Linked DNA regions of Homo sapiens: all the other regions are linked to region 4. Evidence: promoter capture Hi-C in human tissues and cell types (Jung and others, 2019). All regions are on one chromosome and are shown on one strand. The core of a region is centred on a gene start or on the middle of the fragment in contact, and the rest is flanking DNA. Distances in the headings are between cores, read along the strand shown. Region 1 has its middle 8.5 kb from the start of ZNF252P-AS1. Region 2 holds the start of COMMD5 (COMM domain containing 5). Region 3 holds the start of ZNF250 (zinc finger protein 250). Region 4 holds the start of DGAT1 (diacylglycerol O-acyltransferase 1).

The links. Contacts are between HindIII fragments. The study calls those that stand out against the background at their distance.
Region 1: a contact is called between a fragment that was not itself captured here and the fragment with the promoter of DGAT1 in region 4, in 2 of the 25 tissues and cell types used here (lymphoblastoid cells and spleen).
Region 2: the fragment with the promoter of COMMD5 here is called in contact with the fragment with the promoter of DGAT1 in region 4 in 3 of the 25 tissues and cell types used here (dorsolateral prefrontal cortex, lymphoblastoid cells and pancreas).
Region 3: a contact is called between the fragment with the promoter of ZNF250 here and the fragment with the promoter of DGAT1 in region 4, in 2 of the 25 tissues and cell types used here (lymphoblastoid cells and spleen).

What each region holds. Positions count from the first base shown.
Region 1 is chr8:145,007,385-145,015,186 of GRCh38, reverse strand. No RefSeq gene overlaps it. Among named protein-coding and RNA genes, the nearest start is that of ZNF252P-AS1, 8.5 kb to the right of the region's middle. The HindIII fragment of the contact is 4,220 bases long and covers 4,353-7,802 here.
Region 2 is chr8:144,849,090-144,856,245 of GRCh38, reverse strand. COMMD5 (COMM domain containing 5) reads left to right here and starts at 3,198. Exons shown (of 2, transcript NM_014066.4): 1 at 3,198-3,407; 2 at 4,851-6,070. The coding sequence starts at 4,908. The coding sequence ends at 5,582. RefSeq lists enhancers at 2,578-2,677, 3,228-3,557, 3,135-3,983 and silencers at 2,968-3,157, 5,190-5,341. The HindIII fragment of the contact is 6,847 bases long and covers 205-7,051 here.
Region 3 is chr8:144,899,361-144,906,895 of GRCh38, reverse strand. ZNF250 (zinc finger protein 250) reads left to right here and starts at 5,443. Exons shown (of 6, transcript NM_001109689.4): 1 at 5,443-5,497. LOC124902042 reads right to left here and starts at 5,272. Exons shown (of 1, transcript XM_047422534.1): 1 at 4,615-5,272. The coding sequence starts at 5,214. The coding sequence ends at 4,615. RefSeq lists silencers at 4,510-4,589, 5,650-5,759 and enhancers at 4,286-4,889, 4,890-5,492, 5,493-6,097. The HindIII fragment of the contact is 10,274 bases long and covers 1-7,535 here.
Region 4 is chr8:144,324,133-144,331,620 of GRCh38, reverse strand. DGAT1 (diacylglycerol O-acyltransferase 1) reads left to right here and starts at 4,769. Exons shown (of 17, transcript NM_012079.6): 1 at 4,769-5,184. The coding sequence starts at 4,985. SCRT1 (scratch family transcriptional repressor 1) reads left to right here. Exons shown (of 2, transcript NM_031309.6): 2 at 1-1,056. RefSeq lists silencers at 4,343-5,062, 5,073-5,142. The HindIII fragment of the contact is 53,552 bases long and covers 1-7,488 here.

The DNA.
Region 1 (7,802 bases), core at 5,213-7,712, 680 kb before region 4:
ATGGAACAGAACAGAGCCCTCAGAAATAAAACCACACATCTACAACCATCTGATCTTTGACAAACCTGACAAAAACAAGCAAAGGGGAAAGGATTCCCTATTTAATAAATGGTGCTGGGAAAACTGGCTAGTCATATGTAAAATGCTGAAACTGGTTCCCTTCCTTACACCTTACACAAAAATTAATTCAAGATAGATTAAAGACTTAAATGTAAGACCTAAAACCATAAAAACCCTAGAAGAAAACCTAGGCAATACCATTCAGGATATAGGCATGGGCAAGGACTTCATGTCTAAAACACCAAAAGCAATGGCAACAAAAGCCAAAATTGAGAAATGGGATCTAATTAAACTAAAGTGTTTCTGCACTGCAAAAGAAACTACCATCAGAGTGAACAGGCAATCTACAGACTGGGAGAAAATTTTGGCAATCTATCCATCTGACAAAGGGCTAATGTCCAGAATCTACAAAGAACTTAAACAAATTTACAAGAAAAAATCAAACAGCCCCATCAAAAAGTAGGTGAAGGATATGAACAGACTCCTCTCAAAAGAAGACATTTATGCAGCCAACAGACACATGAAAAAATGCTCATCATCATTGGCCATCAGAGAAATGCAAATCAAAACCACAATGAGATACCATCTCACACCAGTTAGAATGCTGATCATTAAAAAGTCAGGAAGCAATAGGTGCTGGAAAGGATGTGGAGAAATAGGAACACTTTTACACTGTTGGTGGGACTGTAAACTAGTTCAACCATTATGGAAGACAGTGTGGCAATTCCTCAAAGATCTAGAACTAGAAATACCATTTGACCCAGCCACCCCATTACTGGGTATATACCCAAAGGATTATAAATCATGCTGCTATAAAGACACATGCACACGTATGTTTATTGCAGCACTATCCATGATAGCAAAGACTTGAAACCAACCCAAATATCCATCAATGATAGACTGGATTTAAAAAATGTGGCACATATACACCATGAAATACTATGCAGCCATAAAAAAGGATGAGTTCATGTCCTTTGTAGGGACATGGATGAAGCTGGAAACCATCATTCTGAGCAAACTGTCGCAAGGACAGGAAGCCAAACGCCGCATGTTCTCACTCATAGGTGGGAATTAAACAATGAGAACACTTGGACGCAGGATGGGGAACATCACACACCAGGACCTGTTGTGCGGTGGGGGGAGGGGGGAGGGAAAGCATTAGGAGATATACCTAATGTAAATGATGAGTTAATAGGTGCAGCACACCAACATGGCACATGTATACATATGTAACAAACCTGCACATATTGCACATGTACCCTAGAATTTAAAGTAAATAAAAAAATTCTTCTTGTTTACATTAGTGCAAGAAACTCCAAAGGCTCTGCATACAGCAAGTCATTTAATCCTCAAAGCAGTCCAAGAAGTAAACGGCTTATTGGTACAGACACCACACAAGGGATTATAAGTGTGGTTGCCATGGGTGAAACAAAAATGCCTCAGGAACTGCTAATCTCTCACCTGGATGCTCAGGGAAGGGTAGGTAAATGAAGTTTAAAACTTGAAGAGTGGCTGGGTGCAGTGGGTCACGCCTGTGGTACCAGCTACTCAGGAGGCTGAAGTGGAATGATTACTTGAGCCTAGGAGTTTGAGGCTGCAGTGAGCTATGATAGCACCACAGCACTCCAGCGTGGGCAACAGAGCATGACAGTATCAAAAAATATATATTTTAAAAATAAATAAAACTTGAAGAGTGAGTAGAAATTCATCAGGGAAACAGAGTGGGAGGAGTGCTGTAGCAGAGGAAACAACTTATGGCAAAGATTCTGAGGAAGGAGTGGTGTGTATTTCAGTACACAAAGCAAGGCCAGCATGGTCAGAAGTGACAGGTGGAAGGTGATTTGAAATCAGGCTGTTGAATGTTGATTCCAGATTACAGTTCCTATAACTAAGGCCAGATAATGCAGACCTTATATACAAGACTGAGGAATTTGAAGTTTAACTTAGGAGCAGTGATGGATTTTTGAGTCCTGGCTTTGATCAGTAGATCAAAAGCAAGAATATATGTCAAGAGAATAGTTAGGTTACTGCAGTAGCCCATCGAGGAAAGAAGGAAGATGTGGGCTAAGGAAGTAATGCTAATGATGGAAGGAAGGAAATGGAATCAAGAAATATATAGGTGGCATAACTAGGACTTGGTATTGATTGGGTGTGGGAGAGATAACTGTGAAGAAGGGTCCCAAGATGATGTCCAGATTACAGTTCCCATAACTAAGGCCAAGAAAAAGGAACGAGGGACTTGGATCTGGGGGATTTGGTGGGAGAACATGAGGAATTGACTTTGTACACTTTTAGTTGTAAGATCTTTGAGAATTCTAGGTGGAAATTTCCTCTTACACACAAGTAGATATGAGGTGTGGAGTTCAGGTAGTAGCTGAAGCCATGAAAGAAAAGAGGTTTCTTAATAAGACTGTATAGCCAGAGAAGAGCAGAAGGCAAGGACAGAACCCTGAGAGACATTGACACTGTTAAGACCTTTGACAGGAAAGAGGACCCTGAAGAATACCAAGAATGAACTACCAGGAAGGTAGGGGCACAAGGAAAAAATATTCACAGAGGAAGAGCACGAACTTACTTTCTTTCTTCCTTTCTTTTATTTATTTTTTTTTGACAATGGTGTTGTTTATTTAAAATGTTTACTCCAAGAAATATATATATATATAATAAGACAATTACAGCACTAAACCAGGCACCTTCGACCGAATCACAACCTCCTCTTTGATTCCCCTTCATGCTAAGCCTCTTTCAAATTATTTTTCCTGAGATGGAAAACCCAGTCAGATGCCCATGGAGTCGACGCCAAGCATGTTCCCAGCCGGGCGACTGTGTACCTTTCTCTAGGAGTGCATGACGCCCTTCCCCCCAACTCCTTGTTTTAAAGGAGTTAACCCATTAGGAAATTCATGTTTCAATCTAAGCCAAAAGGAGGTGCAGGACAAGGCAGGCTTCATTTCAAAGGTCCTTTCCTGCTCCAGTCCCTGGCTAGGGTTCTAGAAGAGGCTGACTGCTGGGTTTATATGAGACTACCAGAAGATCTAAGTCCAGCTCTACCCAGGGCAGCTCCTGCCAAGGCTGGGACCTTGGGTACTGCTTCCTCAACCCTCTTGGTGACCCTGACTCAAAGGAGAGACCTCAAGGGTGCCAGGAGCATAGGTGCCTGGGATGCATTCCAGGAAAGAGACCTGTCCAGGGAAATGGATTAGGCTGTCGCATGGAAGCTTGGGTCAAAGATGGCGATTCTGGGGAGATTTAGACAAGTTAGGATAGTTTAGCAAAGCTCTGAAGTGGCAGAAGCTTCTCCCCTGGACTACTGATTGAACACAGAACAAGAGATGCGCATGGCATCAGACTAAGTCTTAGAGAGATGCAGGCCAGTCTCCTCCCACAGGGCCTTGGGACTGGCGGGACAGATACTGCTACGTGCCCTCTGAGGGAAGGAGTCATGGTAAGGAGTGACTGGGTGGAAAATAGGGAAAAAAGCAAAAGCAACTAGATCATTTTTGGCATTTTAACATGGAGACAGTGACAAGTGGTAACAATAGCAAAAGCCAAAAAAAAAAAAAAAAAAAACGAAGAGACCAACATCTTATGGGGGAGATAACACAAACTTTTAAGAGGGACTAAGTAACCACAATGACAAATTCAACAGAGTTCCAGGGAATTAAGGACTGAGGCATGCACTGGATCTGGCAATAAAGGAGTCACCAGTGATCTCTGTCACCACATTTCTGGCAAAGAGAAAGGTGCATAAATGAGAAGGCAATGGTTAAGATGTGAAACAGGTGAGAAAGCAAAGATTGTACTCACAGAAAACCTTCAGTAAACTTGAAAGGTAGTGCAATTGCTAGAAGGAGACAAAGGACCAAGAAGAGTTTTACTAGGATGAAAGTTCCTTACAGGTATTTGTAGGCAGAGGAACTTGACAGGGAGACTGTAAAGTTAAAAGAGGATACTTGGTGGTGGAAGATTACAATTGTGCTGGGAATGTAGAGGAAGGGGCTAAATCAAGAACAGCTAGAGAGGATGGCTTTCAGAGGAGGAAGTGATTGCATCCTCTGAGTTTTCTCTTTTAAGTAGAAGAGAAAGCTGGATACAATGGTGTGTGCTTGTAACCCCAGCTACTCGGGAGGCTGATGCAAGAGGATCACTTGAGCCAGGAGTTTGAGGCTGCAGCCTGGGCAACACAGGGAGACTCTGCCTCTAAAAAAACAAACAAAATTGCTTTAAAAAATGAGCTAAAGGTGAAGATTACTGATTAAAGTATTGCTTCCTCAAAGAATATTTGAAATCTTAAGAATAATGAACGTATAAGAGATTTTTTTAAATATAGAACAATAAGCTAGGTGCAGTGGCTCATGCCTGTAATCCCAGCACTTTGGGAGGCTGAGTTGGGAGGGTTCCTTGAGGCCAGGAGTTTGAGAACAGCCTCAGCAACACAGTGAGATACTGTCTCTACGAAAAGTAATTTTTTAAAAACTAGCTGGGTGTAGCGGTGTGTACCTGTAGTCCCAGCTAATCAGGAGGCAGAGACAAGAGGATCACTTGAGCCCAGAAGTTCAAGGTTGCAGTAAGCCATGACTGCACCACCCTGCACTCCAGCCTAGAAGATAGAGACCCTGTCTCAAAAAATAAAATAAAATATAGGAGAATGGATGTCAGTAAATAAATGAAAGGCACAAAGTCATTAAAGACACCATCATACAAGAAATTAAAGCCAAAAAAATTATCATCTAATTTTTAAGTTAGGAAAAATTATAAGAAAATATATACCAAGAAGGAAGATGAAAAAAAAAGAATATGATATCAATTAAGGAAAAAAATAACCATATATTTCCATAGTTAAAGTGAATGCTTGGGAAAGGGTACTGCTATAAATTTTCCTGACTATAAGCATCTCACAAAAATCAGTGAAAATGCAGGACAGGAATGTGCATTTCCTGAAGAGAAGACAGGTATCGGAGCCTTGGAATCTTCTTTATAAAGGGCCCAACTCCAGAGATGGCCTTCCCATAACAGTCATATTTACTTAGACTGGATTTTGCAAGGTTTTAGCGTATGCTTCTTTCATAAACAGTTAAAGATAGTCCTAAGCTATCAAAAGCACATTTGCTGGCAAATATGGCTCTGAGAACACTAACAACAATTAGTTCATGTCCAGTTATTAACAGTTCACTTGATCTTACAACTAACTAATGAGGTAGATGACATACATTTTGTTATTATCTCCATTTTATAAATGAAGGAAATGGATTCTCAGAGAGCTTAAGGGACTTGCCCAAGATCTCTAAGCTTGGGTCAAAGTCTTAGACTTTTCAGCTGGTCAGTACATGATAGTGCATGGGCACCAATCTACCTGGGTTCTAGTTTGGTCAATTATTAGAAGTGTGACCTTGGCCAAATTACTCAGCTTCTATATGATTTAGGTCCCTCATCTGTGAAGTAGGAAAAAACGATAATAATTACCGGGATGGTTAACTTTACCTGTCAACTTGACTAGGCATGGGGTGCCCAGATTAAACATTATTTCTGGGCAAGGGCACTTCTGGATGAGATTAGCATTTGAATCAGCAAGGTAGATTCCCCTTCCCAATATGGGTGCACATCATCCAATCTGTTGGGGATGTGAAATAGAAAAAGTGGAGCAAGGAGGAATTTGCCCCTTTATTCCTGTCTCACCTTGAGCTGAGACATCTAATTTCATTTTCTCCAGCCCTGGGACAGAGGTTTATGCTGTCAGCTCCCCTGGTTCTTAAACCTTTTTTAAAAAAATATAAATTGCCCAATCTCAGCAATGAGAGAATATAGCAATGAAAGAAAAGACTTTCTTTTTTCTGTTTTTTTTTTTTTTTTTGAGATGGAGTCTCGCTCTGTCACCCAGGCTGGAGTGCAGTGGCATGATCTCGGCTCACTGCAAGCTCTGCCTCCCAGGTTCCCACCATTCTCCTGCCTCGTAGCTGGGACTACAGGCACCCACCACCTTGCCTGGCTAACTTTTTGTATTTTTAGTAGAGATGGGGTTTCACCGTGTTAGCCAGGATGTTCTCGATCTCCTGACCTTGTGATCTGCCCACCTCAGCCTCCCAAAGTGCTGGGATTACAGGCATGAGCCACTGCGCCCGGCCTAAGACAAGACTAATACACCATGCCTGCTGTATGTAACAGAAGCGTTTGCTCAAAGGCTGACTGAATAGAAAGTTCTCTCTCGAGCATGTTTGTCTCTCAGGAGCCCGCTTACCCCAGCACCTTCCTGGGTCAGTCATCCACAGCTATTTATCCATGCAGCGCTGTATCTGACAGATTGTGGAGGGTTTAGTAAAGTCAAAATCTTGCTTCTTGGGAACAGGCTCAGTGGATAACGTCTTCCACAAGAGCTCGGGAGCTTCAGTGGGGGTGATAGTGTTACAGTAGGTAGTCAGGCAGTCAGGAGAGCCCTCCCACCCACCAGGAACACCAGGTGACCATCAGGGGACAGTCAGGTAGTTGTTAGTTGTCTCTCTCAAATAAGAATTGGTTGCTGCCAGCACAAGGGAAAGGCAGTCTCCCAACAGATAGAAAAAACCTGAAGCTGGTGATCAGCAGCTTCCCAATGAGATCTTAGGAGTTGGGCAAGTGGGCTTGAGCATGCACACAGGGCGGTGAAGTGGCAGAGTTTAACCGGTTGATACCTTATTAGAAGACTCAACTGGTAAGGAAAGAAACACCTTAAGTGAGCATACACACAACTCCAGTAAACACACTGGGCATGTGTCCCCACTTCCACCCTGCACATGTGGACAGCCCACCCCAAGGGAGGAATCAGAGGAGAAGGGATGCTCCCCAACCCCCGACCGCCACAACCTTGCCAGTGTATAAAACCCCAAGTCAAGGGTCAAACCGTGCACTTAATCTCTTGAGTGGCCCACTTGGCCTTCTTCCAAGTGTACTTCGCTTCCTTTTGTTCCTGCTCTAAAGCTTTTTAGTAAATGTTCACTCCTGCTCTAAAACTTGCCTCCATCTTTCCCTCTGCCTTATGCTTCATGCCTCTCCGTCAAATTCTTTCTTCTGAGGAGGCAAGAATTGAGGCTGCAGCAGACCCATGTGGATTTACCCCTGTTAACAATAGATCACACTGCGGCGAAGGAGACAGAAACGCCACAAAAGACCCTGCAGCCCGTCAGGGAAGGAAGCCCGAGCGCCCCAGACGGCCAGCCCTACCGGGGGACTAGCGCGAAAAGCCTAACTGCGTTCCTGGAGAGAGGGGGAGGGTTCAGAGCTGACAGCAGCTCCAGGCCAGTAGTCCCACGCACACCCCAAGACTCATCTCCTTTCCTGCTCCCAGAGGGAGGAAACAACCTGGGCGGGAAGTGTGGTCCTGAGAAGTCCTGAGGCAGCGTCTGGACTTGAACTCAGCTGGATCCACTCTAGGTGCCCTTGGAGAACTATGGTCTCGGTGGTGTCCGGACGCACTGAGGCATCCTCTCTACCCTCACCCACTCGCCCGAGCTGTGCTGGGTCCCCAAAAGCCCCAGTGGGACTTCCTTGCCCGCACCTGCCCTTGCGCAGCTGGAGGCGAGGGAAGCCGCATGTGATCCTTACGGATAGCTGCGCTGTCTTCAGACGCTCAGAGCATCCCCCACTGACCTTAGCTTTCTGCCTTTCCAGCTCCTTTACAGTTGGGATGTTTTTTATTGTCGAGTTGCGCTATAGCAGAATGTTTGTATCCACCACAAAATGCCTGTGTTGAAACCCAGTCCCCACTGAGA
Region 2 (7,156 bases), core at 1,949-4,448, 530 kb before region 4:
TAATAATTACATTGCATGGTGATGTTTTGACACTGTGTAAACATCCTGAGCCTCATGCCCTGGAGACACCTGGCTTTCACAGGTATTGGTGCTTCTTGCCTGAGTTACCACCATGGTGGCTGCTGTGGCTGACTGAGGATGCCACAGGTTCTTTGGCCTCCCTCCCTTTGAGAGCAGGAGCAATATCTTCAATGTCTTCTTGAATCTGGGCAGGCTCAGTCACTGCCTTGACCAAGAGAATGATGATAATTTGAGAAAAAATTTCCAAAAGGACTGCATATAAACATTAAACTTCAGGGTCCTGAAAGTCCAGGAGATGGAGAGGCTGTTCTAGACTGAAGGAGACAAGAAACAGGACAAGTGGGTGCAACTTGTGACCCTCGGCCGATTCCTGATGCTCTGAGGGATTGCTCCGCAGTAAGCAGGTCACACAAACCTACCCCCAAAGGCCAAGGGAGCTGAGAGGCTGAAAAAAGAGGCTGACAAATGGAGTTTCTCCAAAAGAAACATTTACTAGAAACTTATGAACAAAGTAGTATCTCGGGCAGCCACAAGACAGTGGATCCCTGCACCTGCCCCCCAGAAAGCATCCTTTATATAGCAAGCTTTTTGGTAAAAACATGTGCAGCTGGTGATGTCTTAGACTTTCTTGCAAAATTCATGACTGCTGGGGAAGTTAGGTAGCATCTTTCTGAGGGGTTATCAATGCTACAGGCCTTGTGTGAAGACCTTGGTATGCAGGAGTCTAACATCGGCCACCACAGTGATTTTGCTTCGAGATGACACCACTCTTGCCAGGCAACAGGCTCCTTTCCTTCAGAGACATTGCAGGGACACCTGGTGACCCTTGAATGGGGGTCTCTGGGAAGGTGCACTATTCATGCAACCTTTTATCTAAGCTTGAAATTGTTTCAAGCTAAATTAACTTACAAATGTTGATCATAGTAAGGAAGGAGACCACCACTTCTCCTACTGCCCTCCTCTCCCCCTGTCTTGCCTAGTTTATAAGACAGGAGAAATGGGAGAAAACAAAAAGTGAGAAAGAAACAGAAGATAAATAGCCAGATGACCTTGGTGCCATCACCTGGCCCTGGTGTTAATAATATCAACCCCTAACCTAAACTACTTGTGTTATCTGTAAATTCCAGACATTGTATAAGAAAGCATTGTAAAACTTTCTGTTCTGTTAGCTGATGCTTGTAGCCTCCAGTCATGTTCTCCATGCTTTCCCAGTCTATCATAATAACCCTTTCACGTGGACCCTTTAGGGTTGTAAGCCCTTAAAAGGGCCAGTAATTTCTTTTTCGAGGAGCTCAGCTCTTAAGACACAAGTCTGCCAAAGCTCCCAGCCAAATAAAACCCCTTCCTTCTTTAACCCAGTGTCTGAGAAGTTTTGTCTGTGGCTCATCCTGCTACAATAAGATGAGAGTTCTCCAGGCACTCCAGGCACTCTGGCCTTTGGGTGGGAACTGTCTCCAAAACTCACCCCCAGGTTCCTGGCTCTCCTCACTTCAGGAGGGGGTGGGTCTGCCACGTAACCACCGCCCAGACCTCACAAGTGATAGCACTTCACCTTTTTGCTTCAGATATTTTAAAGAGAAATAACACCTTACAGATGCAGTCTCTTTCTAAACTTCCCAGATCCATTCCCTTTAAACAATCCTCCCTCAGCATGGTTTTTAGACTTGATTTGTTTTGTCTTAGAAATGGAGTCTTGCCATGTTCCCCAGGCTGGTCTCAAATTCCTGAACTGAAGTGGTCCTCACTCTGCCTCTCAAATAGCTGGGACTATAGGTTGCCCTCACCTCCTGCTGTGAGGTCAGTTCCTAACAGGCCACTGACCTGTAGCGGTCCACAGCCTGAGGGTTGGGGACCCCTGCTATAGGTGCACACCACCACACCTGTTTTTTTTTTTAATTTTGTAAAAATGAAGCCTTGATATGTCGCCCAGGCTGGTCTTGAACTCCTAGCCTCAAGTGGTCCTCCCACCTAGTCCTCATAAAGTACTGGGATTGTAGGCATGAGCCACTGCACCCAGTCTCCACTCCTATTTATTATTGAACACTATTCCATTGTATGGCTGATGTGGTTTGCATCTGTGTCCCCGCCCAAACCTCATGCTGAAAGGTAATACCCAATGCTGGAGGTGGAGACTGGTGGGAAGTGATTGGATCGTGGGGGTGGCTTTTCATGAATGGTTTAGTACCATGCCCTTAAGTTATGGTCTCATGATAGAGTTCTCCTGAGATCTGGTTGTCCACCTCCGCCTCCCAAAGTGCTGGGATTACAGGCGTGAGCCACCGCACCCAACCTGTCATTTTTATTATAACCCTTCTAATGGTATGAAATGGCACCTCCCCGTGGCTTCCATTCGCATTTCTCTAATAGCCAACAATGCCGAAGGCTTCATGTACCCATTACCCACTTTGTATCTTCCTTGATGTCTACTCACATCTTCTGCCCATTTAATTAGGTTGTTTCCCTTTTCAGAGTTTTTTTTTTTTTTTTAAGTTTTATTGGGCTATAATTCACATACCATATAATTCACCCATTTTGTACAATTCAATGATTTTGGCATATTATTTTTTAACTATGGTAAAGTACATGTTAAATAAAATGGCTCGGCCATTGTTTCGGACCGAGCTCCTGCGCTAGGGCCCAACAGAGCAGCCCAAAGCGGAACCGAGTCACGCGCGCCGGACGCCACCCGACAGGAGGGGAAACGGGGCAGCTCTCAAAACCCTGGAGGCGCAGACCGTCCACACGGGACAGGGACGCCCGCTCGGCTCCGCTCCGCGCTGATCCTCAAGGTCTCGCGGTTTCCCCGCCGCCCACCCGGACGCCGACGAAAGCCAGCGAGCTCCTCAGCCTCAGGTGACTGGAATTCTGACCCCAGACCACGGGACGCGTTCTCCCGCTTTACCCTCACTCTGCGCGGGCGGGGAGGGAGACGCGGGCGCAGGCCGCAGTTTCTACCTCAGAAACGGAAACACAACACCGCCTTCTTTTTCTTTGGGGAAAGAAAAAAAAAAAACTGTCTAAGACGAGGTCTGGGACCCCGCCGGCGACCCCCGATTCCCCCGGGCGGGGAGGGGGCGGGACCTGGCGCGGCCTCGGCTCCGCCCCTCGGGCCAGCGGACCACAGTGGGGCGGTCATTGCTGCCTTCCTAGAGCGGCCCGGAAGTGGCTCTCAGGGCGCTTCCGGGGACCAGGCCCGCTTTTGGCTGCATCAGCCGGGGATTGCCGGCGCCAGGTGCTGGGGGCGACTCGGACAGCGGGAGCGTGGGGTGGAGTAGGATGGAGTCTCCCTCCCGAGCTGGGGGTGTGGGCCTAGGAAAGGCTGCTTCGCCGCTGTGTTCGGAGAGCTCTGGATACTGCGGGGCTTTTCCGCGGAGGAGCGCCCGCCGGTAGGTTGGCCCCGAACCGTGGGGGCGGCGACGGCCGAGTGCCAATTTGACTCTGTGCACCAAGGTCCCCGCGCCCCGGAACGGGCGACGCCGCGCCCCCATCAGAGCCGCGGGTACGGAGTCAGGGTGCGAACCCGGCCTTCCAAGCCGCGCGACCGGAAGCGGGCAGCTCGGAGGCCTTCCCGGATGGCTCTTTGGAGTGGGAAGGAGCTCCTGGTGCTGGCGGGACGGTGAAGGAGTTGGCAGTGGGTGGTCGTTGACTCCCAGGGAGAATGGGGCGCCGTGAAGCCCGTGGGGAGCTCCTGGGCTCCCCCAGCGCTGTGCAGAGTGGCCTGACAAGTGCCTCGAGGACAGGAGCTGTGCCCCGCTGAGCTCTGCTCCAGTACCTGGTGTGCTGAGGTGGGCACGTGCGTTTCCTCTGGCATAGCAGGTGCTTGTGCTGCTGCACTGCTCCTTCAGGTGCGTCGGAACCCTCTTTAGTTGCCGCACTTGCCTCTGTTGCCAGCCGTTGCTCAGCTCTTCCAGCCCGGGGGTTGGGGCTGTGGTGGAAACAGCTGGGACTTCTGAATAGACAGGTCTAGGCTTCAGTCCTTGACTTTGGCAGCTGTGTTTAGAGCTTTGATTTCTTTTTACTTTTCTTTTCTTCTTCCCTGCCTCCCCTCCCTCCCCCCTCCCTCCATTCGTTCGTTCCTTCCTTCCTTCCTCACAGCATCTCTGTTGTCCAGGCTGGAGTGCAGCGGCTCGATTTCGTCTCACTGCAGCCACGACTTCCTGGGCTCAAGGGATCCTCTGTCCTCTCAGCCTTCTGAGTAGCTGGGACTACAGACGTGCACCACCACGCCTGGCTAGTTTTTTAAATTTTTTGTAGAAACGGGGTCTTGCTATGATGCCCAGGTTGGTCTCCAACTCCTGGGCTCAAGCGATCCGCTGGCCTCACCTTCACAAAGTGCTGAGATTTCAGGCTTGAGCCACTGCACCTGGCCTAGAGCCTTATCTCCCTCTCTGTCAGGTGAGAATGGTAATTCTTCTTGCCCACTGTTGTGAAGGATTCAAGATTGAATAGTTAAATGGTCTCAGTGTGGTCTGTGGCGCCAGCTGCAGTGTCCCTGTGTTCCCCGGACCGTTCCCCTAGTTCATTCTTTCATCTATTAATTTACTTGGAGAACTTGTGCTGTTTCCTGGTCCTCCTCCCTGCCCCCTACTTCTCTGCCAATTCCTGCTTGTCCTTCATGCCTTAGATGTCACTTCCTCTGGGAGGCCTCCGCTCCTCCTGGGACTGACATGGACCCCTCTGCCACCTGCTTCCAGGGCCATCTCCGCAGCACTGACTGTCATTGGTAGTTCACACTGTCAGCATGCTGATGATGGGGACCATATCAACCCTCACTCGCTGGCCCAAAGGATGTGAGAGTCACTGGTCTTCTCTCCTCCACCCCACTCTAGGCATCTGCATCTGGGACCGACCTCCTGGGCTGGCTGATCAAAGAGGAAGCAGCAGCAATGTCTGCTGTGGGGGCTGCAACTCCATACCTGCATCATCCTGGTGATAGTCACAGTGGCCGAGTGAGTTTCTTGGGGGCCCAGCTTCCTCCAGAGGTGGCAGCAATGGCCCGGCTACTAGGGGACCTAGACAGGAGCACGTTCAGAAAGTTGCTGAAGTTTGTGGTCAGCAGCCTGCAGGGGGAGGACTGCCGAGAGGCTGTGCAGCGTCTTGGGGTCAGCGCCAACCTGCCGGAGGAGCAGCTGGGTGCCCTGCTGGCAGGCATGCACACACTGCTCCAGCAGGCCCTCCGTCTGCCCCCCACCAGCCTGAAGCCTGACACCTTCAGGGACCAGCTCCAGGAGCTCTGCATCCCCCAAGACCTGGTCGGGGACTTGGCCAGCGTGGTATTTGGGAGCCAGCGGCCCCTCCTTGATTCTGTGGCCCAGCAGCAGGGGGCCTGGCTGCCGCATGTTGCTGACTTTCGGTGGCGGGTGGATGTAGCAATCTCCACCAGTGCCCTGGCTCGCTCCCTGCAGCCGAGCGTCCTGATGCAGCTGAAGCTTTCAGATGGGTCAGCATACCGCTTTGAGGTCCCCACAGCCAAGTTCCAGGAGCTGCGGTACAGCGTGGCCCTGGTCCTAAAGGAGATGGCAGATCTGGAGAAGAGGTGTGAGCGCAGACTGCAGGACTGACCCCTCACTTGACCAGTCCCATTCAGATCCGGCTTGGACAGGCACCTGAGATGGTGCCAAAGTGCAGCTGACTCTTCCCACGACAGCCCTGCCCTTCCCATGAGGCAGGCTCTTCAGTGAGTGTTTGAACGTAATTATGTAGTTTTCTGTTTAATTGAAAAAGAGAGCTATGCCTTTTTTTCTTTTTGGAAGTAAAGCAGCTAAAAACATGTTTCTATAGGTGAGTGTTGGACCTCACACCCTCCCCTTCCCTGTACATTTGTCTTTGGTGCTGGACGTGGCCATGTGAGGCCAGGTTGAGGCCCTTTGTAGACAACATACAGTTGCTCAGCCTGGCCCCATGTAGCCAGGTGCTTTTGTAGATCTTGTGTTTTAGGTTGGGCATTTTCACTCTTCTGCCTTAAATCCCTGACCCCATGGAGCTGACATTCTAGTGCGGCTGAGGGGAGGGGAAACATTGTAAAATAAATCATAAAAATTAACTGGAATAGCTCATCAGAGGATGGCGTGTGATGCAGCAAGTAGGGTGGGGTCTGCGTGCTGATGGGGCGACCTTCCTTGAGGGTGTGACATCTGAGCGAGGACTTGAAGGAGCCGGGGGCACAGCGCTCTGAGGGGAGCAGCACAAGGTGGGGAGGACGGGGCTCAGGCGGCCAGTGTGGGGAGGCCTGACGTGCTTAAGGCCCGCCTGGCTGCAGCCAAGCAGGTGGAGATCATTGTGGGGAGGCGACGTTGGGGAGGGTACAGAGGTCAAGGCCTGAGAGCCTTTTAAGGACTTTGGCTCAATTCTGAGTGACAGAGGAGCCCTTCTGAGGGTTTTCAGCAGAGGAGAGACGTGATCTGGTGATTGGCTGCTGTGTGGAGGGGTGCAAGGGAGGAGGCTAGAGCCCAGCAGAGAGGCTGTCACCAGGGTGGAGTTGGTGGCAGGGACCTCTCCCGGGTGCCTCTAGGGCAGGTGTGTGCAGGGGTTGTAGCCAGCTTTGCAGCTTCCAGCATAACTGTGTTCCAGGAGGGGCCTTGGTGCTCGGTCTCTGCAGAGCCATTTTCGGTCAGCTGGCTTCCAGCTGACTGTTCCTGCCTCCGTGGAGCACTTCTGGACCATGTCTAGTCTGTTCTCTGCTGAGAAACCTCCCCTTGTCTTTGAGTGCCTGGGGTTGCTTGGCTGTTTGTCTTGTCTGCAGTTTTTGGGTTGTCTCCTCCACTAGCCTGGATTTCTTCCTCATCCCTCCATGGGCAGTTCTGACATGTCAGGGTACAGAGGAGTACCTGGGGGTGGGGTCAGTAGACTCTGGGAGGAGCCCAGGTGCCCTCTAAGGTGCATGCTTGTGGGTCCTGCCATCTGGTCGATCACTCAGCTTTGTCCCACCCTCACTGAGTTCCAGGTAAAGCCCTTCTCTCTCCCCGAAGGCACTGTCCCCCCACTGTCATCGGATCAGGAATATGACCAGCCACTTCCTGCATTCTCTGTCCCCAGATGTGGATGGGGCTGGGGCAGCTGGGACCATGTTGCCTTTCTCACTCACTGGCCCTGGCCCTGCAGGAACAGCAGCTTTAGGGACAGCCCCATCCTTCTG
Region 3 (7,535 bases), core at 4,194-6,693, 570 kb before region 4:
AAAAGAAAGAAAGAAAAAGGAAAGAAGAAAAAGAGAAAAAAGGAAGCATAGATACACACAAAAACTTACATACAAATGTCTGTAGCTAAAAAATGGAAACAACCCATGTCCAATATCTGGTGAATGGATTAAAAAGTTATCGTACATACATACAATGGAGTATTGCCCAACAATTTAAAGGAACAAACTATTGATATATGCAGCAAATGGCTAAATCTCGAAATAACTATGCTGAGTGAAAGAGGCCGGACCCACCCATACTCCAAAATAATGTATCTTCTATGATTATATAATATCATACAAACTACAAACTGAGTTAGAGTGACAGAAAGCAGACCCAGGGATGGGGGCGTTTGGGGCTGATGGACCTGTTTAGTATCTTAATTGTGGGGATAGTTTCACAGGCATCTACTTAGGTCAACATTTTCATCAAACTAAAAGTATGTTCAATTTATTGTCTGTGCAATTTATACCTCAATAAAGCAACAAAAATACAGCAGTAAGGACATAGCAGTCAAATATATTTTTAAAAATCAATTTATTATCAGCCTTATAGTATATTTCCCCATAAGAAATGTTTATTTCTCTTCTCTGAACAGAGTATTTCTAAATATCCTCAGTTGTACATATTAATTAGGTTGAGGATAAACTGAATGATAGTTAATGAAATCAGATCTGAGGATATGAATTTTAAATTGATTTTTAAGTTTACTCTTTATCACTTATCTGGTGTCAAATTGATTACCTGTAAGTTCTCACATTGCATCACAAAAACACCATCAGGGATTTTTGGCAATTTTTTTTTTTTGAGACGGAGTCTCGCTCTGTCACCCAGGCTGCAGTGCAGTGGCGCGATCTTGGCTCACTGCAAGATCCGCCTCCTGGGTTCACACCGTTCTCCTGCCTCAGCCTCCCAAGTAGCTGGGACTACAGGTGCCTGCCACCACGCCTGGCTAATTTTTTGTATTTTTTTTTTAGTAGAGATTGGGTTTCACCGTGTTAGCCAGGATGGTCTCGATCTCCTGACCTCGTGATCCGCCCACCTCAGCCTCCCAAAGTGCTGGGATTACAGGCATGAGCCACCGTGCCCAGCCTGATTTTTGGCAATTTTTAATGTTAAACATGGCACTTTACCCAGCTGAAAAAACACATTTTCCTAATCACCCTTGGAGCTAGAATTGGTCTTGTAACACACTTTAGACCAAAAATACATAAGTAAAAGTCACAGGGTGCAGTTCTGAAAGACATGGGGTTGGCTGAGCATACATTTGATTTTGTCTTTTGTTTTTTCTCTTTCTGCCTGGAATCTGGATGTGATTCTAGTGATGAAGCAGTCTTCTTGCAATCATGAGGCAAAAAAAAAAAAAAAAAATGAAAGCTGCTTATTAAGATGGCCAATGGAAAATAAAGGGGGAGCCTAGAGGCCTGGTGGCATTGTGTGGCCTTGGATGGGCTCCGTATTCCTAGAAAAATTGACTCATAAAAAAAACCACCTATTTGGTTCAGCCACTGTAATCAGCTTTCTGTTGTACAGTCAATGCCAATCTTAAGTGAGATAGTAACATAATATGTTAAATTGGTTAAAAAAAATGTGAACACAACCTCAAAAGAATAGTTTCCAGCATAGCACTTCTGGTCTCTCTCTCTCTTTCCATACACACACACACACACACACACACACACACACACACGTTTGTATGGTTTCTGGCTCATAACTGCCATAGCCCTTGTTACACTCGTTTGTTATAACATTGGATGCATTAGGCTTCAGAGAACAAAATCTCTCTGACCTCCTGCCCGCAGGACCCTAATCTTCCCCTACCTCTCTGATTGTGGGTCATAAGACCATCATTCCAGAGAGGGTCCCACCTCATAGCCTGGTGGAAAAAATATCGATGTCATGAAGCTTCCATGAAAACCCAAGAGGACTGGGTTTGTAGAGCTTCTGGAGAGCCGAACACATGGAAGTTCCTGGAGGGCTGTGTGCCCTGCAAGGGCACAGAGGCTCTGCACCCCTCTCCCCATGCCTTGCCCTACACATCTCTTTATTTGTATCCTCTGTAATATCCTTCATTATAAACTGGCAAACATAAGTAAGGGTTTCCCTGAGTTCCGTGAGCTGTTCTAGCAAATCAAACCCAAAGAGGGAGTCATGGAAACCCCAACTTGAAGGAAGTCAATCAGTTCTGGAGGCCCGGGCTATGACTCACGTCGGGGACTGGGGAGTCGTGAACTGACTTGAAGGAAGTCAATCAGTTCTGGAGGCCCAGGCTGTGACTCCTGTCGGGGATTGGGGAGTCGGGAACTGAGCCCTCATCCTGTGGGATCCGGCACTATCTCCAGGTAGACAGTGAAGGAGCTGAACTGGAGGACACCCAGTAGAATTGATGGCTTGCTGATGAGGAGAAATCCCCATATATTTTGGGGCTACATAAGTCTTCTGTGTTGTTAGTATGAGAGCAGAGGAAAAATAGGGTTTGAGAGTTTTTCTGAAACAATTTTCTGGTCTCCTAAGGTAGGTGTGGGTTTGAATCCCACTTGTGGCAGTGTGAGAGCAGAAAAAAAAACAGTTTGAGTTTTTCCAAAACAACTGGTGTCAAAACATGGCGAAACCCCATCTCTACTAAAAATACAAAAATTAGCTGGGCATGATGGCAGGCGCCTGTAATCCCAGCTACTCAGGAGGCTGAGGTAGGAGAATGGCTTGAACCCAGGAGGCAGAGGTTGCGGTGAGCCAAGATCATGCCATTGCACTCCAGCCTGGGCGACAACGAAACTCGGTCTCAAAAAAAGGATAAAAAATAAAAAAAGTAAACTGTATACTCATGAACGATACGTAAATTGTGTGTATATATATTATATATATCATATACGATTTGTTGCAGGGACTGTGCCTTACACCATTGTGGCACATAGTTAACAGTTCCTGTAAGGCTGTTGTCTTTGCATCTGATGCTGGAACAGGGCAGACAGTTGGGAAGGGAAGATGGATGTAAAGTGAGGAGAGACAAGTTGAGGTCTGTGACCTCAAGCTGGAGCCCAGGATGCGCTGAAACCCCTTTGTTGCCCTATAGGAGAAGCTGGAGCCTTTAGTCTTGGAGCTGAAGGAGCCAGAGGAAGAGGGGGCAGCTGCTGCCTCATGTCGCCCAGGTGAACCAGCAGACACAATGGCACCTGCCCAGACCTTCTGTAGTCCTCACCATCTCTGGACACACTCTGTAATTCCTACATTTATTCTGCGTATTGCCTACTGTCTCCATTCACATGTATGGTCCAGAAAGACATGGATTTGTTAGGCACTTGCTTGTTCACTGATGTAGCCCCGACACTTAGTGCTTAGCACACAAGCACTCAATAAACATTGTGCTGTTGAAGGAAAAAGAGTGACAGAGACACAGAAGGGACGTGCTAGAGAGGATGTCAGCTGCTAAATCTAAGTGAAGGGCACGGAGGTATTCATTGTATTATTCTTTCAACCTTTATGAATGTATCAACATTTGCAAAATAAAAAAGTTGTGGAGGAGGAAGAAAAACAAAAACCAGGATGCACTGAGGTCTGAGGTGAAGGTCCTAGGAGCATCAGTTCTCTGTTGGGATCAAGGTTGCTGGGACAGAGCTTGATCCCTGTCAACTGCTAAAACAATCCAGGACAATCCAATAGTAGAGCTGAATTTTGATTACCTTGGTCCTGAGCTTCACAGCCCTTTGGCAGAGGAAATCCTGTGACACTGAGGTGTAACCACAAGACTGGCCCAAACTGACCCTATTCTGTTGGTAACAGGAGGTATAGCAGAGCCAAAACTGAAAGTCATGTAACCCGGACATGCACAAAGGAGGAAAATCATAACTCGGAACCAACGTTTCCTCCCTGTGGAGCCAAGAAGACAGGGACATGACCGGAGCTTGAGGGGCGGAACGCTTTCAGAAGGGAAGGGTCCATTATCCTGGAAGATCTGGTGCTGAAACCTGCCATTCCACACCTTACCATAAATGGCCAAGTTTAAAGCCCTCCTATTGAAACCTGCCCGCCAGCACTTCTGTGTGCCAACCTGTCCTCCCTAACCCGTCGACTTTGACCTAAGCCCACATGTGGGAGCCACATTTGAGCCATGCCTCCGGTCTCCTTGGCCGTCGACCTTGAAATAATAAAGCCTTCTCTTTTCTCAAAAACTGGTGCCACCGTTTTGGCTTCTAGTGCGCCAGGCAACGGGCCCATTGCTCGAAACGCGCGTGGTGGATGGTAGCTCCGTGAAGTGCGAACCCCTGCCCGCAAGGGCTGCTAAGTTCGCTGAAGCGTAGCACAGACTTCGCGTCTGCCTGGTGCGCGGCAAGTACGGAATTATCGCCACATCCTCCCGGCCTCCGCTCCCAACAGCACGGGCCGGGCACTCGCTTCAAGCCTACCCCCTAACCTTAAGCCTTCCCCGCCGCCCCCACGCAGCCCCCAGCCCCGCCCTGTGGGGAAGCCTCTTGAGAGTCTGGGCCCGCCCACGCGCCCAATGGACGACGCGGACCTGACCTTCGGGAGTGGGGCCAGCAGAAGGTGGACTAGGCGTCAGCCTTCCCGTCCCCTGACACCGCTCCAAACCAGCCCCACCCTCCCTGCCGCGGCTGTCAGGTCCTGGGCTGTGCCCGAAGCCTCCACACGGGTGTGGCCCGCGCCCTCGTGAAGGCCCGCCCCTCTCCCCCAGGTGCGCGGTGTAAACACACCAAAAAGCAAACACCAGGGCCGAGTGGGCGACGGAGACGGTCGCTGTTCAGTGACGCCCCCTGTCGGGAGCACGCCGGGCCGGACACAGCGAAGAGCGGCTGCGCCTCGGACCTCGCAGCACTCAGCCTCCTAAGTGGGAGGAATAACCTCACGCAAGTCATCAAACAAGAGGACTTCAGTGTTGCAACGAAGGAAGAGAAAGGGCCCCTGAGAAGGCGACATTCGCACTGCAGCGGCGCAGGGACCAGCCAGGCGGCTGAGGGCAAGGTCGTTCCCAGCAGCGGGAACCGCAAGGGCAAAAGGCTCGGAGGGGGGAACGAGCTCGAGTTCCAGGACGGCCGAAGCCAGCGCAAGTCGAGGAGGGACTGCGGGGCCGGCAGGGGTGTCCTCCACAGGGCGACGGCGGCAGGAGCTCGGGAACCGGGACTGCGAGCGGGTAAGGCTCGGCGATGGGCTGTAACCTCCGCGCCCGGAAGTGCGGCCGGGGAGCCGGCCGGGCCCATTGCCCAGAGGTGTTCGGCCCCTCTAGGGATCGCGGAGGTCTGGCTCTCGGTGGCTCCTGAGAGCTCCCTGCAGTCGGTCACCGAGAAAGGCTTCGGGCGGGCAGGCGGGCCAAATGACGTAAACATGCTTGCCCTCCAGGATTGGCGAACTCGGCTGTGGGGGCGGGAACTGAGGGGCAGGAGCCCCCAGGGATTGGCGGCTGCGCAGACGGGGCGGGGCAGCCCTTTGTCTGAAGGTGCTGCGGGATGCCGTTCCTTCGCGCGTGAGGCTGCGGCTCTGACGGTGAGTGGGGGGCGCGTGTCGTCGCCGGCCAGGACCCTCTCCCATCACGGACACCGGAGCCGGTGCGTCCTCCACACGAATCGTGGACTCTTCCCCGCGAGCACGCACTGCCTCCTGCGTTTACGCTGGTCCCCTCCCCTCACGGACGCGCGGCGGCCTCCTCCCCAGGGCCAAGGCCGCGCCCTCTCCCCCGTTCGGGGTTCCCACCCTTCCCCTCGCCCGGCCTTGGACCCCCTCAGGCCCTCCCGCACCCCCGTCCGCCTCGGACGGCCTCGGTCCCTTCCCCGCCCCTACCCCCTTGGGCCCCGTCAGACCGGCGTCCCTCCCACCTTGGATCTCCTCAGATCTCCGGCCTTCCTCCCCCTCGTGCCCTCCCGCGCGCTTTCTACCGGGCGCCGTGCCTAGGGCCAGGATGGCCGGAGTCCTAGGGGCGCAGTCCGGACCCCCGGGCCGCTCTTCTTGCCGCGCTCCTCGGGGTCTCGCGTCCCCTGGGATGGGCCCGGAAAGGGGTGGGGAGCTTCCCCAAAATATAAAAATGGAGGTTTTTTCTGTTTGATGCACATCCTGAGGAGCCCCATGAAGACCCCGGCGGCGCACCGGGAGCGCCACTTTACTTAGCTATAAAAAGTCTTCCCGCGTCAAGACGAAAACGAGCTGCTTTCGTTTCAGCAGTTGGTCGAGTGTGCTACTTGCCGGGTGTCTTATCCTCTCCCCATTTTGCTGTCGATGCTGTCTTTTCTGTTACTGTGTTAGAGCCCTATTTTAATGAATGAGCCCAACTCTTTGCAACACAGCAAATATTTTCCTTGTTGTTTATTGGCTTAATTTTAAAATTGAAAATAATATGCAATACTTCTTCTAATGCAGGCATGTCAGAAATATATAAAAGTCATCCCCCCCGACACTCTGCCAGTGTATGAAGAGGCAGGAGCTGTGAACAGTTTCAGAATTTTTGAATGCCGTTAGAGCTTTAGGCACGCACGCACACCCTTTTTTCTGTCATCAAAGGGAAGCTGGTGTCGTTTGACTAACACCAGGGGCGGCAGGGGGCGCTCCACTCGTCCTCCGCCGGGTGGGTACTCGCAGATTTTTCAGTTCGTAACTTGTCTTCTGGACATAGGTTTCTCTGTCCGGTGGTCTCTACGAAGTGGGTAAGGGTGGGAGATTGCCATTGACATTCCCGCCCTGGACGGGACTCTGGTCCTGTGGGCTTTGACAGGTCACTGCATTCCTGCCAGGTCGACGTTTTGCGTTTATTGGTGAGATTGAAATCCCTTCATTTGTGTTTTCGCCATTTGTATTTCTTTGTGATTTGCCAGCTCATATTTTTTTCCATGTATGTTGAAAACATGCTTCTCAATTTGTCTTTTGACTCTGATTATGGTGTTTGATTCTGGTTTGGGCTTTTTCAAAATAGAAAATTTAAAATTTTTAGGAGTCAAATATTTTGCCTTAAGGCATTTTGGGCTTTGTGCTGTGTTTTAAAGGGCTTTCCCCACTCCAAGATTATTTTTAAAATAAACTCTTGTTTTTCTGTGGTACTTGTAAAATGTTGGATACGTCTGGAATTTATTTTATTGTGGGGTGAGTTTGGAATACAGCTTTTGGAATTCCTTTTTTCCTCTAAATCATAGCCATTTCTAACACCATTGATCTTCCCATTGATTTGAAAAACCGCTTTTGTCATATACTAAATTGTTGCATGCCTTTAGGTCCATTTTTGGAGTTTGGTAGCTTTGATGTGCATATGATTTTGATTTATAAGCTGCAGATCTGTGGAGCTCTGCTTTTTGCTTTTGGTATTTTGCTTAGAACAGCCCTTCCCACATGAAATAATAAAAATATACCTGTATTTTTATTAAAGTTCTTTTTTATTGAATATAATAATTATACACATTTATGGGATACATGTGATATTTTGATACAAGGATAGCATACAATGTATAATGATCAAATCAGGGTAATTAGGATGTCTGTCACCTCAAACATCATTTTTTGTGTTGGAAACATTTCACATCTCTTCTTCTGGTTGTTTTGA
Region 4 (7,488 bases), core at 3,520-6,019:
ATTAATCATTCACTGACCGTTCATTGAGCACCTACTATGTGCCAGGCCAATTGCTGAGTCCGCCAGGAGCGCAGCCACCTGCTGGGAGGTGTGTTTGCAGGACAGGGGTCCAACCGGCTTGGGTGGGCCAGGGAAGAACGGCAGATGCAGAGAGACCAGGTCCCTAGGTTCACATGCCCCCTACACTCCTCCCCACCTCAACCAGTCCCTGCTGGGCACAACTGGGCTCTACCTTTGAGTTAGGCCTTTTGACTCCAGCTGAGGGGGACAGATCCAGGGCTCCTGGGCCCCCACACAGGTGGCCACTTCTCTGATCCTCTGGCCAACACACATCTGCCATGTCCAGCCAGGGGCAGAGCCATGGCTGGAGAAGAAGGTGCCAGCTGTAGCCTATGGTGTGGCCAGCCTCACCCCCAGCAGCAAGCGTGGCTGCCCCCACAAGGATGACCCACCGCTCTGCACAGCAGTGCCCACATCCAAACACCCTACACAACCAGGTGTGGTGCCTGCACAGCTCCCAAGCTGGGGCCTGCCCACCTGTGCCGCATGCACACGCACACACAGGCGCCCCCACCTCACCCCACCCCATACTCCTGTCTACCTACCTAAGGAGAAAGCTGGAGGGCTGTGGGCCCGTCAGGGTCTCCTGCTTCCCCCTACACCCCGCCGCCGTGGAAAGCCATGGGCCCCCTCCCGCCCCCATAACTAAGCAGCACAATAACCGACTTAGCGAATTCAGGTAGAAGGAACGTTTAGGTAGCACCTATTTTGTACTGATTCTACAAGTAGGGCCCGAGGTGCGGGGGCCCTCGGGTGGGGGCTGCGGCCGCCGGCCCGCCCGCCCCCACCCCCGCCTGTGCCCCGCCGCCTTGTACATATTCCCACCCGGAATAGGCCGGGATTTTTACTCGGGCCGTGCCCCTCTTCCGCCCCCATTTGGGGCCAGGCCGGCCGGACAGACGGACGGACGGACAGACCTCCTTCCTAAGCACAATAGCACCAGCTCCCCGGAGCACCGCACCTCCACAAGGAGAATAAATGCCACTCTTGATAGAATTTGGAGTGTCGGGCTGATGTGTCCTGGGCTGGGCCCACGCTGTTGGGTGGCTGGGAGGGTCTTCCCAGTCTGGCAGTACCTCAGAGGCTGGTGCTGCAAGGGTCAGCCTGAGGCCTTTCACAAGACGGCCCTCTTCTTCCACTGGGGAGGGCAGGCTTGGCAGGCCCAACCACAGGAGCATCAGGTCTGAAGGCAAAGTAGTTGGCATTTCCCCTGGGGTAGGTGGATCTGCTCCACACCAGGAACAGGAGCACTAAGGGGTTCCAGTCTAAAGTCAGGCCAAGCCCACGGTTGGACCAGAGTGGGCAGGGTAGGTATAGTAGGAGCTGCTGTTCCCCAGCCTGGGTGCCTTCGCTCTTCTCTCCCTGAAGGAGCTTTATGCTGTGATGGAAGGCCTGATAGCCACCTCAAGCCCTCTGAGATGCTGTTGCAGGAAATGGGGACAGTGGAGAGTTCGAGGTCTGGCCCTTTTCCTGTGGCCTGCTGCCCACATTCTGACCCCCAGGCTTCCCAGATATGCTCCCCCAGTGTCTGCGGATGCCTCCATGGATAGCTGGGTTGGACCGGTTCCAGGGAGGAGGTGCCCAGGGGGCAGAGAGGCTTCTGCAACCATCGCCCAAGGGCTCTAGACAGAATGAGTAGTGGAGGAGATAAGGGACAGGGACCCTTTGCCCAGCAATGTCCCCTGGTAACCAGGTAGGCAGGCATGAGCCGAGAGGCCCAAAGTCTTCGGGCACATACATTCAAACCAGGTCAGTCCTAGATCCAGGGCCAGCAAAGCTGCCCACACCCTAGCAGGGACAGGGGACAGACCTGCCCAGACTCCACTAGGGTGGAGAGCAGGGGAACCAGGTCTGCAGCATGTCATGGCCTGTGTGCCTGGCACTTGGAGGAGCTGTGGTGCAGGTGGGTGCTCTCTTTGGGAGAGCACTACCAGCAATGACAATGGCAGACAGCAATGGCCAGGAGGAAGGCTCCTAGCCTCACTCCTTCCAAAGGACTCCAACAGCGACTGGCTGTTTCTACTTCTCCAGGATTCTGATGCGTAGAGTGGGTGGAAGGATGGAGGTGGCCTCCCTGAGGCCTGGGATGAGCTCGACCCCCCAGTTCCTCCCAGCCACAGACACAAGTTTCCCTCTGAATGAGCAGCACAGGCCATAGACCACCACTGGCTGTGAACTCTCCTGGGACCCTTGCTTCTCACAGGCCTTCTTGGCCCACCCATGGCCCCTAGGCCCTGGGATCAGCCTGAGGCCCCAACCCACTTCCAGCCCTTTATTCCACTAGCCCTGGAAGGCAACTCGCTTCGGGCTTGGGCCCCCTCATTTGTTGCTGCCCCCAGCAGGGTGATCTGCATCATGCTTTCCTCGATGACCCAGCCATACACACCCTTGTCCCCAACCAACCTCACCTACCCTGACCATTCCCCTCACCCTAGATCCCAGGGTATAGGGCCTGTCTGGGCAGGGCTTCACCCACCTCTGGAGCTGCTGCCCCGCCACGCCCCCACCCCCGGTGGCAAAGCCCTTCCTTAATGGCCCGCCCACAGCCAGTGCTTTCCCCATTGGCTCCAAGCCTGGCTCTGCTCACCAGGCCCGACCCATCCTCCCTGGTGGTCCAGTCCACCCTCCCATTGTCTTTCTCCTGTGGCCACTTGCCGGCTTTGAGTTGGGACGCGACCACAGGTTGAGTCGTTGATCTCCTCTGCCTAGCATGAGGTGCTCCGTGGCCAGGTCCAGACCTCTCTGAGCTTGCTGTCAGTCCATACTCAGACAGGTCTGGGCCTACCTGGCCACAGAGTGTGTCTGCCAGCGACTGCATTCAACAAATGAATATTCTGAGAGACTGGGTAGGAGATGGGGCTGGTCCTGACCGACCAAGGCCCATGTGTGAGGGGCTCTTGGGTCCAGTGAGGGCGGCCCCACTCGGCAGGCTACACAAAGGGCATCTGCCAGGTAGCTCCAGCCTGCCTGATACCTGGTTGGCAGCAACCCACAGCGGCCTGTGGTGACAAGAATATGTCACCAGGGGGGCAACCAAGGGGGCAGCCCTGCTGGCCACTGTTGGTGGAGGTGGTGGAAGAGGACGGAGCTCAGAGGCGAGGCTGTGACCAGCCCACGGGAGAGGACCCCACCTCAGGAGGAGCACCTGTTTGCTTCCAGAGAAGTGCTGCTTGCCCCTGCTCACCCCAGAGGAATGAAGGTGTTTCTAGAGTCAGAGTCCTCAGTGAACCCTGGCATCCTGAGATCCAGGATGTTCTCACTCCATGCCCTGTGCAATATGCACACCAAGCCAAGGTGGGCCGCAACTGTGGCTGTTACAGTTGATTAGTTGCTTCATTTAACATACAAGATGTCTGGGGCAGTGGCTCATACCTGTAATCCCAGCACCTTCAGAGGCCGAGGTGGGAGGATTGCGTGAGGCCAGGAGTTCGAGACCAGCCTGGGCAGAATAGCGAGACCCCCATCTTTAGAAAAAATAACAACAGGCCAGGCGCGGTGGCTTGCGCCTATAATCCCAGCACTTTGGGAGGCCGAGGTGGGCGGATCACGAGGTCAGGAGATCGAGACCAGCCTGGCCAATATGGTGAAAGCCCGTCTCTACTAAAAACAGAAAAATTAGCTGGGCGTGGTGGCACGCGCCTGTAGTCCTGGCTACTCGGGAGGCTGAGGCAGGAGAATCGCTTGAACCCAGGAGGTGGAGGTTGCAGTGAGACGAGATCGCGCTACTGCACTCCAGCCTGGCGACAGAGTGAGACTGTCTCAAAAAAAGAAAAAAGAAAACAAAAAACAACAGGGCGGTTGCACAGGCCGTGCAAATGCACAGAAGCCTCTTGAGTCCCGGCGATCCAGCGGCCCAGACTTCTGACATCCTGGAGAGGCTGGCCCACGTTGGAAACTGGGAGGCCCTGAGAGTTGAGGGACGTGGAGCTCCTTGTGGAGAGAGTGGGTGGGCTGAGAAGACACCACCAAGGGGCCTGCGCCCTCGCCCTCGCCCTCGCCCTCCTCTCGCCGGGCTCTGCAGGCGGGGAGGTGGAGAGCCTGGGAGTCGCGTGCAAGGCAGGCGTCCCGGTGACGCAGGGCCTGGTGCATTTCTCCAGCTTGGTCTTCTGACCTGGCCCTTGTCTGACGTCCCCCTAAGGCGAAGAAAAGCAGGTTCCTGCCGGGGTAACCAGAGGGCTCGCGGAGCAGAAGCGCGCCAGGGACGTTACTGTAAGCTGCGTGCGCAGAAACCAACGCGCTGGGTGGCGGGCGACGCGAGCCGCCGCGGACACCGGCCCGGACAGCTGGACCGTGGCGCACTAGGCGCTTCCTAAATGATTGCCCGGAGTGACTCGCCGAGACCCCGTGTGTACACAAGTGGGACGAGGGGCGGGCGCACAGCGGCCAGGAAGTCGGGGCCCAGCGCACCCCTCAGCGGACCATCCCGCTCCGTGGGGCCGGACAGGACCCCGGGACCACGCGGGAGCGATGCAAGGTCCGTTCCCGCTGCGCGCACTTGCGGCCCGCAGCCCCGGCCCTGGGAGCTGCCACGGCTCCCAGGGTGCTCTGCGCCGGTGCGGCCGCGGCGACTACGACTCCCAGGGTGCTCTGCGCCGGCGCGCCCGCGGCGACTACGACTCCCAGGGTGCCCTGCGCCCCGTCAGCCTCTCCAGGCCCCGCCTCAGGTCGGCCGCGGACTACAAATGGACGAGAGAGGCGGCCGTCCATTAGTTAGCGGCTCCGGAGCAACGCAGCCGTTGTCCTTGAGGCCGACGGGCCCGACGCGGGCGGGTTGAACGCGCTGGTGAGGCGGTCACCCGGGCTACGGCGGCCGGCAGGGGGCAGTGGCGGCCGTTGTCTAGGGCCCGGAGGTGGGGCCGCGCGCCTCGGGCGCTACGAACCCGGCGGGCCCACGCTTGGCTGCGGCCGGGTGCGGGCTGAGGCCATGGGCGACCGCGGCAGCTCCCGGCGCCGGAGGACAGGGTCGCGGCCCTCGAGCCACGGCGGCGGCGGGCCTGCGGCGGCGGAAGAGGAGGTGCGGGACGCCGCTGCGGGCCCCGACGTGGGAGCCGCGGGGGACGCGCCAGCCCCGGCCCCCAACAAGGACGGAGACGCCGGCGTGGGCAGCGGCCACTGGGAGCTGAGGTAGCGGAGCGCCTGACCCCCTAACCTCTGACCCAAGGGCCCCGCGACTTTCCGGGGTTGGCCGAAGCGCGAGCTCCGAGTCCGAGAACATGGGCCCTGGGCTAAGCGGGGATCGGTGTGCCCTATGGGCCCTGTGGGGAAACTGAGGCTTGGGGAGAGTCACCTGACAAGGTCACTGGGTAGGGGCTCTGGAGCTGGCCTTGGCCAGGCAGAGGGGAGCCGGCAGGTGTCCCGCATCCAGATCCTCTTGGGTCTGTGCATCCTCAGGGGCTCCTGAGGAGCTTTTCGAGGGGCGGGCTGGTGGGGGCCCGGCCCTGGACAGTGTCCCCTTATATGGAAGGAGTCAGATAAGATCTGGGCAGTTTGTGGTGATAGGTTCCTTCTTGGTGCTATGAGCGGTGCCTTGCGGGTAGGAAAGGCTCCCAGAGGAGGGCTGGCCTGCCAGGGAGGGGGCCAGAGGAGCCCAGGCCTGTCCGAGGACAGGGGAATCAGCAGCTGCCCCGGACAAGGGGCAGTGTTAGAGGCGTTCTTGTCCTTGCAGACCCTTCTGAGAGTGGCTGCGTGGCCCATTCATTGCTCCAGTGGTTAGGCTGGCCTGGAGCCCTGCCGATGTTGCCAGAGCCAGCGTCTGTTGTAGGGACAGAGAGTTGGGTTCTGTGTTGGGACTTCCATCCTCCAGGTGGGGAGTGGGGTATGGGGGTGGTGGACACACCTGCAGGCGTGTGCCCTGCTCAGCTGGATGACTGACAGAGAGGGGTGGAGGGAGAGAACCATGGCCGATGGGAAGGACTTGGCCAGCCTGGGCATTGGCTTCCTCCACCAAGCTGGCCTTGAGCAATCCCCTTGCCACCCTCCATCCCCCCTTTATGGCCTTTACCCTGGCCCAGGGGCCCTCAGGGCTTTGTTTTAGAGAGCAGCTGAGGGCCTAGAGGTTATCAAGGCAGAAGTGGGCTGATTTTGGACATGTAGTTGGCAATGATTTGCTCTCTCAGTGAGCAAGAACAGAGCTTTCCTTCACGGGGCACCATGGGGAGGGGGTTGGGGGAGGGCAGGCACTGTCGTGGCCCTCAGGGTGCTCAGTTCATCTGGGAGATAAGATAACCTCAGCGAGAGTCAGGCATGGAGCAACATGGACAAAGGTCGGGCACGGAGGCCTTGAAGGGGCCGTGGGGAGGAGGGTGGCCCTCCTGAGAGGGGTGCTTGCCTGCTGTGGGCCTGGGGTGCTGGTGAGGGAGGCTGGCCTAGGCACCTCCTACCTGAAAAGGAGGTGTGGCTCCTGGAGTTACCCTCTCTCCAGGAGGCAGGGGGATGGCTACATGACCTGTGGAGGACGTGGGAATTGAGATTTCTTTTTTTTTCTTTTCTTTTTTTTTGAGACTAGTTTTGCTCTTGTTGCCCAGGCTGGAGTAAAATGGCACATTCTTGGCTCACTGCAACCTCTGCCTCCCAGGTTCAAGTGATTCTCCTGCCTCAGCCTCCAGAGTAGCTGGGATTAGAGGCGCCCACCACACCCGGCTAATTTTGTATTTTTAGTAGAGATGGGGTTTCTCCATGTTGGTCAGGCTGGTCTCGAACTCCTGAACTCAGGTGATCCACCTGCCTTGGCCTCCCAAAGTGCTGGGATTACAGGTGTGAGCCACCGCGCCCGGCCGGGAATTGAGATTTTTTTTAGTGTGAGATGAGGGTAGTCCCAGCTTTGGGCCAAGCCGCCACCTGGGGGTAGGCAGGGGAGAGCAGTCACCTTCTTGCTTTGCAAACCAGCAAGGCTTTCCTGTACTTCTGCTGGTGTGGGATGGGTGCAGAGCTCGTGGGAGAGGCCTGGTGAGTCCCTGTCCCTGCCGTGGAGGTCGGGTCTCCTTGGGAAGAGGGGCAGTAGATGGAGAGGTGAGGCCTTCATGGGGCTGGAGGCTGAGACCAAAAGTCTATCTGCTCCTGGGTCTCCAGGACTTGCAGGCTATGTGTGCTTGTCCCTCAGACCTAGGGATGCAGCAGGGCTCGGCCACTGGCTGTGGACACTGGGCTCTTCTCCCTGCTGTCTGCGTCAGGCCTTGCTCTGCCTGCCCTCCTGGGACTTGGCCTCTAGCGCACCCCCTTGTCAGCCTCACAGCCTCCCCTCCCTCCAGCTTCCTGCTGCTCTTGGCCCAGCCCAGCCTTTCCTCTCCCGCTTCCTCATTACTCCTTGAGCTCGGGCCTCCTCCCCTCACGGACACTTCCTGCTCACCTAGGGCTGGGCTCTGGGTGTGAGCTCCTTTCTTCCGGCCCCGTGGCAAGGTGAGGCTGTGAGGCAGGCAGGAGAGGGCACCC